Regions from separate parts of the Homo sapiens genome. Here region 1 is linked to region 2. The links are contacts of gene promoters, found by promoter capture Hi-C in blood cells and fetal thymus (Javierre and others, 2016). All regions are on one chromosome and are shown on one strand. Each heading gives the region's core, a stretch centred on a gene start or on the middle of the fragment in contact. The rest is flanking DNA. Distances are from core to core; before and after follow the strand shown. Region 1 overlaps FAM234A (family with sequence similarity 234 member A). Region 2 holds the start of MRPL28 (mitochondrial ribosomal protein L28).

Region 1 (5,763 bases), core at 3,084-5,583, 120 kb after region 2:
ATGCAGTGGTGTGTTTTTCAGCCATGGTAAAAACTAAAATTCTGACACATTATAAAATTATGCTAAATGCAATGACTAGGACACGAAGGTCCCCTGTAGTGTGAAACGCCCAGAACAGGCAAATCCACAGAGGCAGGGAGTAGACTCGTGGGGGCCAGGTGCGGAACAGGGAGAGTCGGGAATGACTGCTATGGGCTGAGGGTTTCTTTGTGGGATGATGAAAATAGTGGTGATGGTTACAAAATGCTGTGATCATACCAAATGTTACTAATGGCAAATTTTACGTTATGTACATTTTACCACAATAAGAAAAAATGTGTGCATTCTCCTAGGTGCTGAGGCTTAAGTTTTAACATCTTGGAAGTCAGAAAAGGTGTGCTTATCAAAGGCAGTGAGTTAGAACACGGAAAATCAAACAATGAGTCGCGACCAAGGACCTCATTAAACCCAAGCAGCTGGCATGGGGGTGGGGAAGGCAGGACGTGGGTTGTCTGGAAAAGGTAACTAGGGAAAAAGCCAGCAACAGAACGTAGGAGTGCCTCATTGCCAGGGCCTGAGGGGCTGGGGCCAGGGCTGGAAGAAGAGGAGACGGCCATTAATTCAGCAAATCTAGCCACCATGTCCCCAAGGAAGGGATGTGTGAAATGTTTAAAACATAGATTCCTGGCCGGGCGCGGTGGCTCACGCCTGTAGTCCCAGCACTTTGAGAGGCCGAGGTGGGAGGATCACGAGGTCAGGAGATCTAGAGCATCCTGGCTAACACGGTGAAACCCCGTCTCTACTAAGAATACAAAAAATTAGCTGGGTGTGGCGGCATGCGCCTATAGGAGGCTGCGGCAGGAGAACGGCGTGAACCCGGGAGGTGGAGCTTGCAGTGAGCCGAGATCGCGCCACTGCACTCCAGCCTGGGCGACAGAGCGAGACTCCGTCTAAAAAGAAAAATTTTTTTTAAATAATAAATAAATAAAACATAGATTCCTTTGGCAAAGGAAAGAAAAAAACGGAGTAAGAACCAGAATGTTATAATTCTGGATTTCTATCTTTACGGCTTTAAACTTAAGAGCTTTAAAATTGCAGCCAAGAAATTCGAGCTCTGAGCCTCAGCTGTCCTCATCTGGTGGGAGCTAGAGCATCAAAGAAAGCGTGCAGGAAAGCACTACTCAAGGAGGGGCATCAACCGCCACCACCAGGAATCTGAAAACACCACCCATCCAGCCACGGGCCCACCAGTCCTCACCTACCTGGTCGTGGGAGTGCCCGGAGGACGTCCTCGATGTGGACTCCTGCTGGTGCATCTGGTCGTGAGCTGTGGACGGGGAATCTGTGCCTTCGCAAGCCCAGGTGGACCTAGGGATCATAAAGCCACTTGTCAAGTGCAGCTCAGGCAGCCTGCGAAGGTGGCAGGTCAGGAACTTAGATCCTCCCAAAGACATGACTCTCAGTGGTGGCTCCACATGAAAATAACTTGGGTGCTTTCGCAATCCTGATGCCACCCCCAGAAGGACTAAGTTGGCCACTTTGGGTGTGGGGTCCCAGTCAGGAGCAGCTGCTGGCACTCTCCAGCTGATTCCAGGGTGGAGCCAAGCAGAGAAGAACAGACCGAGAAGTCTGCCCTTGTTCGGTTCATCCCACTCTAACTACCAGATGATGGCCAGACATCTCCTGACCCTCAAGGGGAGACTGCATCCCCCCACAGCCAGCCTGGAAGCAAGCAAGGCAAAGGGGAAAGGGCCTCTTCCTCTGAAGATGCCGCCCGGCCTGTATTCTGGGTTTTCTGTTCCTTGGAGTTCACAGCAAGCTTAGTAAAGTCAATCCAAATGCAGACCTCAAGCTAGTAAATTATATCACTCCCTTTCTTAATCCTTCTTCTAATATGTAAGCTATGACCAAAGGACCCTGCAAGACAATTACTATTAATGTAGTTTGGATTTATAATTTTAAAAAATCAGTAATAAATATATACAACATTTAAAAGGGCCAGGTGCACTGCCTCACACCTGTAATCCCAGCACTTTGGGGGACTGAGGCAGGTGGGTCGCTTGAGCCTAGGAGTTTGAGACCAGCCTGGGCAACAGGGGACACTTCTTCTCTACCCAAAAATACAAAAATCAGCCAGGTGTGGTGGTGGGCACCTATAGTCCCAACTACTCAGGAGGCTGAGGCAGGAGGATTGCTTGAGCCCGGGAGGTCAAGGCTGCAGTGAGCGATGGCCAGGACACTGCACTCCATCCTGGGCAACAGAACAAGACCCTGTTTCAAAAAAACCCACAAAACTTAAAAACTATAAAAGGGTAAATCTCCTTTCATCTTGTGGCTCCCAGGCTCAAGAGGGGAAGCATGGTACCAGTTTCATATGGGTCCTTCCAGAAGTATTCTCTATGTGGATAAGCATGGAGTATATAAAGTATACAATCTATATGAAAAAAATGTGACTAGAATGGTCGAGTTATAAGGTGGCTTCTAAAAATTAAAGGAAAAATAAAATTCAAACTACTTACTTATCTCTACAGCATGATTTGTCATGTTAAATCAGACCAAACTGGACATTCTGTGGCAGGGACAGAGAAAGTACTGTCATTTTCTCAATTCCTGCCTTTTGAATTGGAGAGCCTGGCCGAAAGGACAAACATTTCCCCCATGCACGGACCATCTCTGTAACAAGATTTAGAAGGACAAAGGGAAAAAACTCTCTAAATGCTCATTAGTAACACGGTTGGGGATTTGGGTCATCTGTGTCTTGTGAGCATCTACAATTGGTCCAGTGTCCTCACCTGCAGAGCAGAATGAAATAAGACATATCACATACGTGTGAGGGAAGACAGAAACAGAGGCTTCAGAAGGCAAAGCCCCATTACGGGACGCAAAACAATGCAGGCAATTGACTTAACCAGATGAGCACCCACCTGAACCCAGCACTGGGCTCCACTCTGAGAGGGTTCCCAGACAGTCAGGCCCCGCAGTGCCTCCATGGGGACTCTCCCACCACTTGGGCGAACCCAGGTCAGGGTAGAAAATGGCACTGAACATTTTTGGGAGGATCATCATTTTAACTGACAAACACAGGTTTCTAAAACCGAGCCAGCCGTTGAGGCATTTATGAAAAACACAGACTGATCTAAGATCAAAAGAGTTTGTGAGAAACTGATTTAAAAATCATTAATAAGGCCAGGCGCGGTGGCTCACGCCTATAATCCCAGCCCTTTGGGAGGCCAAGGCAGGCGGAGTACCTGAGGTCAGGAGTTCGAGACCAGCCTGGCCAACATGGTGAAACCCCATCTCTACTAAAAAATACAAAAATTAGTCGGGCGTGGTGGCGGGCACCTTAATCCCAGTCACTTGGGAGTCAAGGGCAGGAGAATTGTTTGAACCTGGGAGGCAGAGGTTGCAGTCAGCCGAGATTGAGCCATCGCACTCAAGCCTGAGGGACAACAGCAAGACTTCTCTTAAAAAAAAAAAATCATTAATAAGGCTGGGAGTGTTGTCTCATGTCTATAATCCCAGCACTTTGCCAGGCCGAGGCGCATGGAAAGCTTGAGTTCAGTTCAAGACCAGCCTGGGCAACACGGTGAGACCGTTTCTAAAAAGAAAGAAAAAAAAAATCAGCCCGGTGTGGTGGCACACGCCTGTGGTCTTAGCTACCCAGGAGCTGAGGTGGGAGGGTCACTTGAAGCCAGGAAGTGGAGGCTGCAATGAGTGGTGATCACGCCACTGCCCTCCAGCCTGGTGACACAGAGTAAAGCTCTGTCTCAAAACAAAACAAAACAGAACAAAACATCGATAAAACAACAAAACCAACAATCAATCAATTAAAAAACCACCAACTGACCGGGCGTGGTGGTTTGCGCCTGTAATCCCAGCACTTTCGGAGGCCGAGGCAGGCAGATCACGAAGTCAGGAGTTCGAGACCAGCCTGAACAACATGGTGAAACCCCACCTCTGCTAAAATAAAAAAATTAGATGAGTATGGTGGCATGCGCCTATAATCCCAACTACTCAGGAGGCTGAGGCAGGAGAATCACTTGAGCCTGGGAGGCAGAGGTTGCAGTGAGCCAAGATCGTGCCACTGCACTCCAGCCTGGGCAACAGAGCAAGACCCCCATCTCAAAAAAAGAAAAAAACAAAAACAAAACAAAACAAAACAAAACACCAATCGATCGAAAAAAAAAAAACACCAGCTGGCTGGGCATGGTGGCTCACGCCTGTAATACCAGCACTTTAGGAGGCCAAAGCGGGCGGATCACAAGGTCAGGAGATTGAGACCATCCTGGCTAACACGGTGAAACCCCATCTCTACTAAAAATACAAAAAATTAGCCGGGTGTGGTGGCGGGCACCTTTAGTCCCAGCTACTCGGGAGGCTGAGGCAGGAGAATGGCGTGAACCCGGGAGGCAGAGCTTGCAGTGAGCCAAGATCGCACCACTGCACTCCAGCCTGGGCGACAGAGCAAGACTATCTCAAAAAAAAAAAAAAAAAAAAAAGCCACCACCTACTCAGGAGGCTGAGGCAGGAGAACTGCTTGAACCCAGGAGGCAGAGGTTGCGGTGAGCCGAGACTGCACCACTGTGCTCCAGCCTGGGTGAGAGTGAGACCTCGTCACAAAAAAAAAAAAAAATCCACCAATCAAGATAAACTCCAAATGAATTAAAAATGTAAACATTATTATTATTATTATTATTTTTTTGAGACAGAATCTTGCTCTGTCACCTAGGCGGGAGTACAATGGCGTGATCTTGGCTCACTGCAACCTCTGCCTCCTGGGTTCAAGCGATTCTCCTGCCTCAGCCTCCTGAGTGGCTGGGACTATAGGCACCCACCACCACACCCACCACCGCACCCAGCTAATTTTTGTATTTTTAGTAGAGACGGTTTCACCATGATGATCAGGCTGGTCTAGAACTGCTGACCTCGTGATCTGCCCACCTAAGCCTCTCAAAGTGCTGGGATTACAGGCGTGAGCCACTGCGCCTGGCCAAAAATGTAAACATTATTTTTAACAAACATTAAACTAAAAGAAAATAGAAGAGAATGTTTATGTATTGTTAGGGAAAGTCTTGAACGCATGACCCCAAAGGTGGAAATCATTAAGAAAAACACTGATGAACTAAATATATTATGAAATGTCTAACCCAAGCTTGTCCAACCCTCGGCCCAGGATGGCTTGAAGTGTGGCCTAACATAAATTCAGAAACTTTCTTAAAACATTCACAGATTTTTTTGCAATTTTTTTTTTTCAGCTCATCAGCTATCATTAGTGTTAGTGTACTTTATGTGTGGCCCAAGACAATTCTTCCAACGTGGCCCAGGGAAGCCAAAAGATTGTTGTTAGCTCCACAAAACAAACCAGGATAAATATTCTTAGGGTTTTCACAAACCCACAAAAGAAAGGCAAGGACCCCAGTGGGGAAACAGGAAACGAATTCATAACTGGGCAGTTCACTGAAGAGCACACGCCAGTGGCCGGTGCCCAGGGGAAACACACTCAGTCTCACTCATAGACACAGCAGGACCAATGACATTAACAAAAGTTAAGCATTTCATTTTATCTGATCTTGAGACAGGGTCTCACTCTGTGGCCCAGGCTGGAGGGCAGTGGTGATCTAGGCTCACTGCAACCTCCTCCTGCTGGGTTCGAGAGATTCTCCCACCTCAGCCTATAAAGTAGCTGGGACCACAGGTGTGCATCACCGCGCCGGGCAAATTTTTGTATTTTTTGTAGAGACAGAGTTTCGCCACGTTGCCCAGGCTGGTCTCAAACTCCAGGGC
Region 2 (2,700 bases), core at 1-2,500:
TGAGATCCCTCTGCAGATCCCAGCTGCTGTCTGCAGTGGCCCCTGGGGCCTGGGCTTGGTTACTTGGAGACCACAGGTGCCTGTGCGAGGGTGGGGCTGTGTGCTCTGCTGGCCTGTGGGTGGCTAGAGATGGGGAGAAGGACTCCCTATGGTCCTGTTCCCTGGCGAGGCTGTGGTGAGACCCATGGCGCCCAGGAGCCCTGAGCCCACCACTGGGGCCGGGAGCTGTGGACTCCGAGACCCCTGCTCCTGGCCCCTGTGTGGCCCTGATGCCAGCCTGCCTGGGGCATGGAGGATCCCCCTCTGCTGCTGTGGTCACCATAGGGACGGGAGACGGAGGTTTCCCCCAGAGCTGATGGGCACTGGGGATGCAGGCTCCCGCCCCGCCCCTCCCTTTTTCCTGGCTCTGGAGCCTTGGGTCCCTGAGAAGAGCTTCCTTGGACTGGGGTGCTCTGCTGCTCTGGGGGTTTGGCCCAGAAGGAACCCCTACCCAGCCCTGTCCACCCACCCCAGCGTTCCTGGGCCCCCCTCTGGGAGCTTCCTCTTGGTCCCAGGAGCTGCGGTGGTGTCTGCCCCCTGCACTGGGCTCTGTGCCCTGTGGGTGTTCAGGAGACTGGACTGTCTCTGCTCCTCATGCAAACCTTGTGGGGGAAGCAATGACCAGGAGCAGCACCTGGCCCCTCCCTGAGGCCTGTGAGTGTCTCGGATCCGCCCTGGAGAAGTGAGTGGCTGAGACCCGGGTGGGGCCCTCCTACCCTTGGCTCTGGGGGCTTCCCTTCTGGGTCTTGTCCGGGATATGGCCTTCCTGAAGGTCTTACCTCCCCCAGCCGCCCTGCACTTGACCACCAAAGCAATCTCTAAGCTTATAAAGGAGAAACATATATATATGGGGTTTTTTGGAGTAAAGGAAAATTCTAAGATATTAAGACATATTTTTATGTAGATCTGATCTATCTGTGTTTGGTGAATTTAATATTCTACATTGATTTTTCAAACTAAACGAGTTTTTACATTTTTTCTGTGCTCCTTCCCGGGTAGGGTAAGTGGGGCCCGGGAGAACAAGCACCGCCCCGCCCGTGCCGCCCTTCGCGGAAACGCCGGGGCCGCACGTAGCTAACGGTGCCTTGAGCTGCTGCTGCTGTATGTGGGGTGTTTTTTACGGTCCCTAAAGACGGAAGCGGGGCGGGACGAGGGGGTAGACGGATGGCTTTTACAGCCAGTCAGCGGTGGGAGGAGGGCCAGGCGCGGCAGATCGGCTTCCGGTTCCGGTGGGCTCTGAACCCTGAAAGGTGGGCGCGGGCAGGTGGGGTGTGGGGGGGCGCCGGGGCAGAAGGGGAGGGGCAGGTGGGTGCGGGACAGGGGCCGGAGTGAGAACCGGGGGCCGGGGTAGGGGGTAGCGGGTGAGAGCCGGGGGCCGGGGTAGCGGGTGAGAGCCGGGGGCCGGGGTAGCGGGTGAGAGCCGGGGGCCGGGGTAGCGGGTGAGAGTCGGGGGCCGGGGTAGGGGGTGAGTGCCGGGGGCCTGGCCAGGCTGCGACTGACTGCGAGCCCCCACCTCCCGCCAGGCTCGCGATGCCTCTACACAAGTATCCCGTGTGGCTCTGGAAGCGGCTGCAGCTGCGGGAGGGCATCTGTTCCCGCCTGCCCGGCCACTACCTGCGCTCCCTGGAGGAGGAGCGGACGCCCACTCCCGTGCACTATAGGCCTCATGGGGCCAAGTTCAAGATCAACCCCAAGAACGGGCAGCGGGAGCGTGTGGAGGACGTGCCCATTCCCATCTACTTTCCCCCCGAATCCCAGCGGGGGTTGTGGGGCGGCGAGGGCTGGATCCTGGGCCAAATATATGCCAACAACGACAAGGTGGGTCCGCAGGCGGCCTTCAGGGGCTCCTCTCAGGGCTTGGCTGTGCCGGCTCTGTGCCGGACGCCCGGGGTACCTGGAGAGACCTGGGTGGGCCCTGGGGATTACAGCCTGGAGGCGACACATCTCCGGCAAAGGAGCACGCTGAGTGAAGAACCGCAGTTCTGGCAAACAGGACTGATAAAGTAGGGGTGAGGTGGGGTGACTCAGGCCGGGGGAGCAACCAGAGGCCGTGGGGAGTCGGGGTAAAGTTAGGATGGGGAGGAGGCCTGTGTGATGAGCAGAGCAGGTGGGAGAGGCGAGCAGAGCAGGTGGGGGAGGCGAGCAGAGCTTCGAGGCTGCTTGTGGTGGACTTCCTGGCGGGACTGCTGAAGCCTGTGGGGAGACTTGTGTCACCTCCAGGTTGGAATGTGACAACCTGTAAACTGTGGGGTCGCACATGTTTCTGAAACACATGCAGCAACCATGTGACCAGGGCGGGAACGCCCAGCTTGTTGGGGAGCAGCTGACTTCTGGGTACACAGTCAGGACCCGGGTCGGGCTGGGGCGGCACTGGGCTGGGGGCCGGCCCAGTTAGCTCTAGGTCCCCAGTCTGACAGCAGTGGTTCTGTGATGGAGCCTCCGGGGGGGAGGTGAGGGCAGTTGCCTGGGCCCCCCTTGGTATGTAAGAGAAAGCAGCAGTACTCATGGAGGCTCTGTTGCACCCTCAGCTCTCCAAGAGGCTGAAGAAAGTGTGGAAGCCACAGCTGTTTGAGCGAGAGTTCTACAGTGAGATCCTGGACAAGAAGTTCACAGTGACTGTGACCATGCGGACCCTGGACCTCATCGATGAGGCTTATGGGC

What was found. Contacts are between HindIII fragments. The CHiCAGO score rates a contact against its expected background, and 5 or more counts as called.
Region 1: a fragment that was not itself captured here is called in contact with the fragment with the promoter of MRPL28 in region 2 in 1 of 17 cell types (erythroblasts); the score reaches 5.7 in erythroblasts.

Annotation. Positions count from the first base shown.
Region 1 is chr16:245,133-250,895 of GRCh38, reverse strand. It overlaps FAM234A (family with sequence similarity 234 member A), which reads right to left. Exons shown (of 13, transcript NM_032039.4): 2 at 1,242-1,347. Among named protein-coding and RNA genes, the nearest start is that of FAM234A, 13 kb to the right of the region's middle. The HindIII fragment of the contact is 1,601 bases long and covers 3,533-5,133 here.
Region 2 is chr16:369,088-371,787 of GRCh38, reverse strand. MRPL28 (mitochondrial ribosomal protein L28) reads left to right here and starts at 1,250. Exons shown (of 6, transcript NM_006428.5): 1 at 1,250-1,289; 2 at 1,563-1,857; 3 at 2,568-2,700. The coding sequence starts at 1,570. It overlaps PGAP6 (post-GPI attachment to proteins 6), which reads left to right. Exons shown (of 13, transcript NM_021259.3): 13 at 1-1,000. The HindIII fragment of the contact is 7,915 bases long and covers 865-2,700 here.